Regions from separate parts of the Homo sapiens genome. Here region 1 is linked to region 2. The links are contacts of gene promoters, found by promoter capture Hi-C in blood cells and fetal thymus (Javierre and others, 2016). All regions are on one chromosome and are shown on one strand. Each heading gives the region's core, a stretch centred on a gene start or on the middle of the fragment in contact. The rest is flanking DNA. Distances are from core to core; before and after follow the strand shown. Region 1 has its middle 23 kb from the start of ABCB5. Region 2 holds the start of ITGB8 (integrin subunit beta 8).

Evidence for each region. The method cuts DNA at HindIII sites, captures the fragments that hold promoters and counts their contacts. A CHiCAGO score of 5 or more calls a contact.
Region 1: a fragment that was not itself captured here is called in contact with the fragment with the promoter of ITGB8 in region 2 in 4 of 17 cell types (monocytes, M0 macrophages, M1 macrophages and 1 more); the score reaches 9.9 in monocytes.

Annotation. Positions count from the first base shown.
Region 1 is chr7:20,589,894-20,595,382 of GRCh38, reverse strand. It overlaps the pseudogene LOC402641. Among named protein-coding and RNA genes, the nearest start is that of ABCB5, 23 kb to the left of the region's middle. The HindIII fragment of the contact is 5,077 bases long and covers 1-4,939 here.
Region 2 is chr7:20,326,739-20,332,149 of GRCh38, reverse strand. It overlaps ITGB8 (integrin subunit beta 8), which reads right to left and starts at 1,250. Exons shown (of 14, transcript NM_002214.3): 1 at 217-1,250. The coding sequence starts at 343. ITGB8-AS1 (ITGB8 antisense RNA 1) reads left to right here and starts at 388. Exons shown (of 3, transcript NR_110120.1): 1 at 388-500; 2 at 2,637-2,783; 3 at 3,294-3,849. RefSeq lists silencers at 290-529, 1,000-1,389 and enhancers at 1,470-1,759, 1,860-1,929, 2,017-2,629. The HindIII fragment of the contact is 8,395 bases long and covers 1-4,459 here.

The DNA of each region.
Region 1 (5,489 bases), core at 1,152-3,651, 260 kb before region 2:
TTGAGAACCATTATTCAGAGTTCTCAACACCTCCTTCCTGCTCCTCCACTGGGCAGCTTTGAACCCATTACATTTCTCCCATTGTATAATTTTCTTTGTACATTGCTCTCAAGGGGAGAGCAGGTACTGCTTAGAAAGGGGACGTTAGTTGGATTGATGAATGGGTTTTAAAACTTGTAGCAAAGGCAGAAGTCTTAAAAGCCAAGTGCTTAAGACAGATAACGTGTTTTAAAGTTCAAATGCTTGGCTTTGAATATCAGAATACAAAATCTTGAAGGTAGCACGGCGTGGAGATTATGCCCAAATCAACACAACATATGATGATGTAAGAGTTAGTGGGAGAAACCCAAATCCTGCCCAGTCCTCTCTGTCCTCCCCACTTGCCAAACAGAAAGGAATGGATGTGTTGTATCCTAGAGTATCCTACCTGTTGCATAGCCAGGGGAGACTAGAAGCCTGTTAGAATCCCTTGGTTATCATGGGGTTGGAATAGCAGACCAGCCACGGAATGATGAAGAGCCTGGACTAAAAGCCCCAAGGGCCTCCTCACAGAGCCCTTGTGTACCCCAAGGATGAAAAAAAGCATCCAAGGGGGGTGTAGAGTGTTGAAAGAGATCCAATTGATTTGAAAAAAACCTAGGGCAAGATAAGGAAGACGGTGTGTGTGTGTGTGTGTGTGTGTGTGTGTGTGTGTGTATGTTGGAGGGGGTTGATGGTTCAAGGGCATTATCATCAGTGTCTCCCAGCCCATAACAACAAGCACCTGTTGAAGAGATTTACAGCTCAGCAGACACCAGACGTTGTACTAGCTATATTTTATTTTGGTATGATTGGCGTAAATTCCCAGGTATAGATGAATAATTTGAATACAACTTATTTAGGTAGAGATTCCCTTTTTCTTCAATTACTCCTGCCTTAGAATGGAAGGGGTCTTATAGTCTTCAAGTGAGTAGACAGCATGGCTATGTGCAGACAGAATGGCAGCAATGCCCCTCTGCAAGCTCCACGGGTTTAGGGCAATTTGTTGACCATTTCCTGTTGACAGCCTTTCCAACAGCATGAATCCCATGGATGTGGTTTTCCAGCAGTTTCAGCCAGTTCCTCCCTAAGAAGCCAATGCACAGGATTCAGCGGAGGCCAGCGGAAACGTCCCTCTCCTAGAGAAGTGCTGCTTCATCAGGACTTGCGGCTCTCAGCAACATCAACCTTCTTATCACTGTAATCTGGAAGAGCACATGCTGTTCTCGATGATGTTGGCAACGGGCTTTACGAGAAAATGTCATGGAAGTTGTCCTTTCCAGTTATAGCTAAACCACCAGGGTCAAATTTTATTTTGCACTCAAGATCCACAGATGAATACTCTTGCAAAGCCTGCAATATCCAGAGATAAAGTGCTTTATGCTCTGAATCGTGCAATTCAGAAGGGAAGCACAATGAGGGAGTAGTTCTAAGAGGGGTATTAATCGGACTGCTTAGGTTCTTGTCTTAGCTTCAACATTTACCAGATCTGCAAAAGTATTTTAATCTTCGTTCTTCAGTTTTCCTTTCTGTAACATAGGCAATAATGTGCTTCCCTTGTAGGACTTGGGAATTAAATAAGAAAACATATAAGAAGCACAGTGCCTGGCATTTTCTGAGCTCTTAATGAATGCTGGCTTTGTCATGAAGTTTATTATTGCCAACATTTATGGTGGCAGAAAATGTTGGTTGGCTGCCCTACAGACGTTTCCTGCTGCTCTGTCTTCCTTGTAATCAAAGCGCTAATTTTGTATATTTATCTGGGAACCACATGCTGATGAATTTTGATTGAACTAACTGCTTGCTAATAAGTGGCTCTCCTATTTCTGAGTATTCAGGGCATGGCACAACTTACCTAAAGGGAGACCTGGTCATGTGACTTGCTGTGGCCAGTGAAATATGAGATGCTTGACACCACAAACAATGACATTCATGCTACATGTCTGTAGCATTGCCTTCTGTTGAGACTTTCAATAAAAATCAATGAGCTTTTCACTTCAAATCACAGAAAGACTAAAGTGTGGTTGCTATCTGTTACCATACCATTACTGAGTCCATCTTGGCTGGTATCTAAAAGCAAACTCCATGAAACCTGTTTCACTCTTTAATAACTATTTTGCATGGCATCTTTTTGTCCCTTAATTTTTAAAAATTTTTAATTTTAGTTTTCAGAAGTTGTTTTCACTGCCATCAACTTTTTTGGTGGAAATTACTGGAAATTCTGGCAATTATTAAATCATAGTTCATATCAAACTGTGCTGATTGAGCTTTTGCCATTGTGAGTTTTCTTTTGTGGCTATTATTTCTCTTTTTTAAACTTTTGAGTTCAGGGGTACAAGTGCAGGTTTGTTACATAGGTAAACTGTGTCATGGGGGTTTGTTGTATGGATTATTTCATCACCCAGGTACTAAGCCTAGCACCCAATAGTTATTTTTCCTGATTCTCGCTCTCCTTCCACCCTCTATCCTCCCATAGGCCCCAGTGTGTGTTGTTCCCCTCCCTGTGTCCATGTGTTCTCATCATTCAGCTCCCACCTAAAAGTGAGAACCTGTGGTGTTTGGTTTTCTGCTCCTGTGTTAGTTTGCTAAGATATTGGCCTCCAGCTCCACCCACATCCCTGCAGAAAACATGATCTCATTCTAACACATTTAACTTGATTGTGCTAAACTCTGCAGATCTAAATTCTGATAAGAAGATGTAAATTTGTAATTTTCTAATCAATAATAAAGGATTATTAGAAAGAAGGCAGAGCATCAAACAGACTCTAGAATGAGATTGATAAGTTCTAACTCTGGCTTTGTCACTGCTTACCGTGTCACTTGGGGCAAGTTACTTAACTTCTCTGTTTCCTTTTCATCTGTGAAAAAGGATCATATTAGCGTTAGCATCTAACTCACAAAATATTTTATGAGAGTAATCAGTTACTTTTTTATAAAAGCTCTTAAAACAGTGCCTGGAACAATAAAAGCTATGTAATCTATGTATGTATGTATGTATGTATGTATGTATCTATCTATCTAGATACACACATACATATCTATATCTATATCTATCTCTATATATGTATATACATATTTTTTTGAGATGGAGTTTCACTCTTTGTTGTGCAGACTGGAGTGCAATGGCTCAATCTCAGCTCACTGCAGCCTCTGCCTCCCTGGTTCAAGCAATTCTCCTGCCTCAGCCTCCTGAGTAGCTGGGATTACAGGCACGCGCCACCACGCCCGGCTAATTTTGTGTTTTTAGTAGAGGTGGGGTTTTGCCATGTTGGTCAGGCTGGTCTTGAACTCCCGACCTCAGGTGATCCACCCGCCCTTGGTCTCCCAAAGTGCTGGGATTACAGGCATGAGTCACTGTGCCTGGCCCGTAAATATTTTGAAGTGACTAAAATGTACGGTTTTAACTATTATTTTTTTTGGCTGTTTGTATAAAGTATACTTATTACTTGCTCTACTCTTGTGGGTGTAAATCACATATATATTATTTAATTTAAATATATATATATTTTAAAGAGAAGTTTATTGGTCTTTAAATGGCTCAAATTGCAACTAAACAAATCGGGTAGTGGCATCAGCCTAAGACACATGATGCATCTTTGTCATTTGGCTTCATAGCACCTCAGTACCCAGGAAAGGAGAGGTCTCAAAGCAAAGTCACAATGTTAGTGGTTAGGACCTCTGGTTAAACAAGACTGTAATGAGTACACGTGGAGATTGCTGGGCCCGCTGGCCAGTGTTACACTGGTAACTTGAATTCTGCACATGACATAGCCTATGAGAAATACAAAATGAAAGATGTACCTCTCAAACCCTTTAATGACAAATATTTAACAGAGAAACTGGATGTAATATCTAATGAGTGAGTTCCTAGAAAGTCTATTTTTAACTTTACACACACACCTGTTTCCTGGAATGCCTGAACACATCTTTGACCTGTTTAAATCAGGACTGAGCAAAAGGAAAAAAAATACTCCGTTGAATCAACTGTCCTAGTTCCACTGCAAAGAGGAAAAAAAAATCGGACAGTGGCATATTTCCCACTGAAATTATGTCCCCAAATAGCGTGCTAGAATTCTTCCGGCAGGAACACCACACAACGGTGACACAGCCTGATGTTTGGTCAGTGTGTGCCAAACATGTTTTCTGCACAGTACCCAGGTCTGACTGCTTGATGTTAACTCCTGAAAGTGAAGCTACAGTGTTCTTCATTCAACAGTGCAAAATGCATTAGCATTATTGACATTTTCTTCCTGTGCCCTACTCCCAGGAGATCAAAAACTTAACACTTACATGCTCACCACTGGCAGAAAGTGATTTCCAGGGACCAGCATCTTAAAGAAAAAGAGGGTTCATTCAAACATAACTGGTGCTGAATCCTTGCAGCTGAAAATTATCTTACAAGTATATGCTGGCCCTTCATTTTAAATGAACTTGAAGTTTATTAAAAGTGATCAAAGAGCTCTGGAATCTTATTTTCAAGAACCAGAGTGTGGCACACATTTTAAATTTGGACAGGCTCCTAGCAGGCAGTTACTTCTCAAGAATCTTCTATACCAAAGCTGTACTCCATGCTGGGCATATATTTTCTCACCAGGACACATGAGGCAGTGGACCCCTGGTGTCAGTAAGAACATACCCAGAATGATATAACCGGGTATTTTTCTGTTTCTAAATTAAGGCATATTCAAAAATTTCCATGTACAAGTTTACACTACTTTAATCACCGGGTAATTAAAGCAGATTCACAGATGAATTACTCTCAGTTTAACTATATACAACAACCATGCCAATAACTTTTTCTTCTAAATTTTGCATAACAATGGTTTTAAAAAGTGGTACAGTTTAACTATCATGTTCACAATTGTCATTTTTCAAGACAGTAGAAGACCAAGATATTTTAATATGATATAAAATGTAAGCTTTATAATAAAACACCAGAGGAAGTCCTCTTTCCTCCCTCTCCTCACCCCCATCTCGCTTCTTTAATATTTCAAGAAAGACTGCCTCAGAAACACAAGCTCCCATGCTACATTCAGGACCATGATAATTGTTGGCAATTACTAAATAAGTTGAACTTTGCTCCTTGGTGAAGCCATATTAATTTCTTTTTTAAGTAAATTTGAATTTCATTGCAGTTGCAATTCATGCTTTCAGTGATATACAACAATTTCCAAAATGTTAAAGTAATTTCAGTCAATTGAGCCTTCAGTGGCAATGCTTATAAATTATATTTATTAGTATAGTCGAGATAAGAAAGGAGTTTGGGATTTGATTGTAAAATGCAGCATCTTTCTCTGATTGTCTTGGCTAAACTTTTCCTCTTCTTTTTCCACTCTTTGTCACCTTCCATCTTTCTCACTCGAATTTCTCTCATTAAGTCAAAAAATACCTTGTGAACATTAGCTCATGTTTTAGGAGATGTTTCCACATAGATAACATTCCACTAGTCAGCTCTGTTTTTTGCCTCTTCT
Region 2 (5,411 bases), core at 1-2,500:
TCTGATAATTAGTCCTTGCTGTCGCTCCAGGGCAGAAATGCTTGACACCTGGCCTCTAGGCCATCTGTGCTGGAGGACGCTGCCCCGCACCCGCCCCCTTGAAGTTCTCTGATGACCGCAACTTACCTGGCCGGGATGCTCTGGCCGGGCAGCTCTTCGTGCCAGCCCAAGACCTTTGGGGAAGAGAAGAAAACAAAACAAAACAAAACAACTTACCACCTTGGCCCAGTCCAAGAACAAGTGAAAACACCCAGGCTGCCCAGAGGAACGAGGCGGGACCTCGCCGGTCGTTTTGCAGGCAGACAAATGCAGCGGTAAAAAAAGCCAGGGCCGAGCCGCACATAATGCAAAACAGCCCGCCCCGCGCCCGCCGCCTGACTGCCTTCCGGACGCGGGCTCGCGCCTCCCGGGCGCACCTCGGGGCCCGCGGGCCGAGTGTCGCTAGGACGTTTTCCGCAGGCCTAGCAGGCGGACCCCGCGGCTCGGAGCAAGCGGTGCAGGTAAGCGGGCCCGGGCACCGCTCGGCATCTCAGGGCCCCTGCGGCCCTCCCGGCTCGGCACGGCGGGTCCCGCGGTCTCCGCGAGAAGCACCTCCTTCGACGGCCAAGGGCCCCGGCGGCGACTGGAGAGAGGGCTCTGCAAGGGCTCCGCAGCCTGCTCCGGGACAAAGAAAAGAGCTTTTGTTTCTCTCCAGCCGGTGGGGCTTCTGCTGCATAAATCAGCTTAGCGAAGAGCCAAACACAATCAAACCCAAACAAAGCCCGAAGCTGGGGGGGAAACCACCCTAATGTACATTCACTGGGTGATGCTGGATCTGTGGGAGGGGACGCCGGCGAGGTCGAGGGGAAAAAAGTCTGTGGCGCATCAATCAGCGCAGTTGCTTCCACAGGTGGGCAGGGAGGCCAACACCATTAGTTGCAGCTTTGCAGCCCCGTCTGCGGAGCAGCGGGCAAAGACAAGTCGGCAGCGTCCTGGCTGGCAAGGGAGGAAGCTCGGGATGCCAGCAACAGGGGGAGGCGGCTCTGGGAGCGCCCTAGAAGCACCCGCCGACACCCGCAGGCACAGAGCGAGGCATCGCCGCTCCCTCCCTGGCGGGGAGTGGGGCCTGCGGCTGCGAGCGCAGGAGGGGAGGTTCCGCGAGGTGCCGGAGCCCGGCTTCGCGGGGCGGGGGCTGCGTGCCCTTGTCCTTTTCGCCTCAGTGCGCGGCTCAGGCGTCCCGCAGTCCAGAGCCCGAGTTGCTGGCGCGCTCTGGGGTGCACACGGCTAGGATGCGAGAGAGGCGAGGCCGGCGATGGGCGGGAGAGGGGTGGTCCTGCTCTGGCCCCCCGGGGGGCTCCAGACCTGCGGGTAGCCGGGTGCACTCAGGGCAGAGAGTTGCTAGGAAACCTCCCCACGCTACCGGAGCGCCTCGCCTCGGCTGCCCGCAGGCGCGGCTGCAGCCCGGGCAGGAGCAGCAGTAACAGCTCGGAGCAGCGTGGGCGGGACATTGGTGAGGCATGAAGTCACCGCGGCCCACACTCGCTCTTTGTTTTGCTCACTCCAGCTCTTTCTTTTCCCCCTTGGCTCTGATAGTTGCCATTCCCATCGTTCACAAGAACTCCTGAAGCGTAGCCGCGCAACAGGAATGGCACGCCTCGTTCCCTTCTCCCTCCTCCCCCGAATCCTTGCACCCCAACGCTCGCGGGGGTGGTGGGAGACTCGCTCAGCGCCAGCGGCAGCTGCGAGCAAACCCCAATCTCTCACCCCCGCGCTGCTCGCCGCTTTGTTCGGAGATACTCACTGCCCCGCAGCTGCTGCATACAAAGTGGAGTCAAGGGACCTCCCCTGCCCCCAACGCCCTCTACTCAGCACTTTGCTTGCAGTTAGGAGCTCGTCCTCTACCCCACCACAAGGCTGCCCCGGTGTCCCTAGCCTTTGGAGAGTTGGACCAGTCTGCAGGGGCTGTTCCCGGAGCGACTGGCCGAGATTTCTCGCTGCTCCTTCTCTGCTCAAAACCTTAACCCTGGACTGGACAGCCCTGTTTTTCCCCAGCGTCTGGTGGTGGCTCTGGGCTTTTGCAAGTTACAGTGGGTCTTTTGATCTTAAGCGTCACCTTCCCAGTAAACGGAACAAAAAGTTACAGACAGCAGCAAAGCGGGGAGAGGGGAGCTAAGGAGAGAAAGTGGAAGGCACTTCTGCCTGCTTGCAGCTCAGAAATTTAGGTGCAAGTAGGGTGCGGGTGTTATGCTGGGCAACTGCCCGGAAGCAGCGCGCCTCCTCGGGTCCTGTCATTACCACGCTAAGTCGAGGGAGGGAACTCAGTCCCCCGCATTGGAAACAAGGCAGTGTTTCCAGTTTAACACGGTGATGGTTCTCTTTTCCCTCTAGGGGCAGGAGCGATTCCCATTCGAGGAGTTTGACCTCTCATTTTAATACAACACCCGCCTCTTAGAGGCAGCAGACCAGTCCAGCCAGGTCAAGGTGAAATATGCGGGAGTTTCCCCCCTTCTTATTTAATAGTTTCCGTCTCCTTATTTGTAGTTAAAAAAAAAAAAAAAAAAAAAGTAGGAGGCGCGGTCTCTCTCTTTCTTTCTGTTGACTGAGTGAATGGAAAGTACCTGGTTAATAAACCACAACATCGAAACTCCCCCTTTCAGGTGTGGACCGCACAACGGGGTGCACAGGATTAGTTAAGCAAAGCAGGAACCCAGCTGGAAAATTAAACGAGCCCTGGATCTGCAAAGCAGGTCCCTTCGCGAGACCAAAGCCGTGATCCCAACCTTAGCAACATAATTCTACTGGAGGTGATGTACTCTAAATAAATAGAAATAAATCCAGCTCCGCTTTAATATTTATTTCCTTTCCTTAGTTCCAAGTTTGAACAGTTATAGTTTTGTTTTTTGGTTGTCTTAAAGGAAAGGCCTAAAAATTAGTTAGGATGGGTGTGAGGACTTGAAAATTTGAACACAAAAATATCATATTCAATATCTGATTAGTGACTCTTCCATTGGGCAGCCTGGGTATTTTCCAGGGGTTATGTCACAGACCTACTGAATGCAGCCACCCTTGAGACATGCAGTGCTTCAATCAAAAAAAAAAAAAATTAAATCCCTAATTCCCATAAGGACATGTCAATACACTTTAAAGTGTCTATCATATCACCATTCCATAATATTCTAAAATACAACTCTTTGTTGCTGGGTTGTAAGTGGCAGTTACAGTAATAAATAAAATATAAATGTATGCAAACAAGAAAGGATGTAACTTTATGAAATTGATGAGGTATGCACTAATTTTTGTAACTCTGTTTTTAGGTGTTGATATATATACTAATCCAGAACAACCATGTAGCAAGAGGAATAAAATGAAGTTCAGAAGTCTGTTTCGGGAAATTTTGAAGCCCTTTAGAAAGAAAGATTTCTACATTTTGTTACATGAAATTCATGCAAATATATGTCAGGTGCCAGTGCTATGGAGTTGTTGAAGAATAAGCACAATACCATTTATTACCACTTCTCAGTTGTAAAGAGGCTGTAACTCTGGTTGTCGAAATAAAATAAAATGAAATCTCCTAGATGTGACACTGTGACCCCTGCCAGTTATTTACAAACAAGTTATCTGCACATTTTGGGCTGTAAACATAAAAGTAAACTCTCTGAAAGACTGCAAATCATCTTTAGGGTTTTCTTAAAGTAAATACAACTAGTGGCCCAGGAACCAAAAGTTTGCTTGTTTCCAGTTAATGTCACTGGTCACCATAACTCACCCTTTTTCCTATGAGGAAATGTACAGCATATTTTAAAGAAATGCAGTATTGTTATCTTCGTCATATTACCTGAAGAATTCTAATAAAGGAAAAATGTTTCGGAAGATGGTGACTTGATTAATTTGTTTTTCCATCATGTTCTGCTATATTGCTTTGAAATTTCTGACAGCTAATTTTTCATCATTTGTGGTAATGAGAGGAAATGAAATTCACAGATAGTCTAAAAATAACATTTTAGTTATTCATTCCAGGCTTCCTATCATTAGAGTCTTTGAGCTGAGTTACTAAAAAGTCATAAAATTAAATTACTTAAATTTCTTCCCTACTCCTTTAACCTTGATTTCTCACTAAGTGAGTTTATGGTGAGAATGAATAAGCTATAGATAGGTAGCAGGAGTGAGGGAGACACTCAGACTGTTTTTTAAGAAATGGAATCTTGCTATCTCACTATGTTGCCCAAACTGGCCTTGAACTCCTGGTTCAAGTTTGAACTCAAGCTATCCTCCCACCTCAGCCTTCTGTGTAGCTGGGATTATAGGTGTAAGACACCACATACAGCTGTGGCTATTCACACTTTAACTAGATGTGCCCAAATTATTGATCTCATAGTGGCACCTACAGACACATTTGAATTTTAATGTTACATCTTTTTGAAGTTGGGATCAGAGCCATTCAGTACGTTTTGGGTGGGTATTCACAAGTTATCTATAAGCTTGCCTGAGACATCTCAGAAGATGATTAATGGTCAGACCAGTGAGATATATTATTGTGACTATGACCTCTAGCTTCTTCTAATGATAAAGTACATAAATTGCTTGAAGGTATTTTTCACTGAATTGTTACATAAGACAGTGTTTCTCATACTGTAGACTGAAGACTGCATACAACACAATCCCCCATAGAGTAATTCTGAGTTCTAATTCCTTGTCTCTATTCCAGGAGATTCTGAATTAGTAGATCTTGTATGGTGCTCAGCAATCTGCATTATACCAAGGTCCTCAAATGGTTTTTATATGCTCTGAAGTTTAAGAACTTCCTACTTTAATGGGTTAATACAGAGACTCCTTAAAGGCCTCATGAGTGTTTAATAACAGAGATCAGTGTCAGGTGCAAATTCAAAGAAAAATGAACTGCTGGAGCCAGTGTCTCTTGCCAAGATAGTTTATGGATGACTCAATCTGTGAGATATTAATGTTTTCTGAAACAAGACTTCCATGATTAAGCTTGGGAAATGCTGAATTAAAGTCAAATTAAATCCCTTACTAGAGGAATTTCCGGAAACTCAATAGAGCAGCATGCCATTAGATTCTCCAAAGGAAGAAACCTGTATGAGAGAACATCTCACAGATTAATTTTCCTCGAAGCATGCTACAGAGCTAGCCCCATTTTACAAATGTGGAAACTGAGACAAAGACTGGCAAAGAAACCAACCTCACTTTTTCAAGGGAATTCATGAGCAGGCAGAAATCAGAGCTCTGATTCTCCTCAATTATCTCATATTGTGATGACTTCTAGTTTCAAGTAAAGAGTCAGATTATGGCTGTTCTAAGTAAAAAAGGAAACTATTGGCTGGGTGTGGTGGCTCACACCTGTAATCCCAGCACTTTGGGAGGCCAAGGCAGGAGAATCACCTGAGGTCAGGAGTTCGAGACCAGCCTGGCCAACA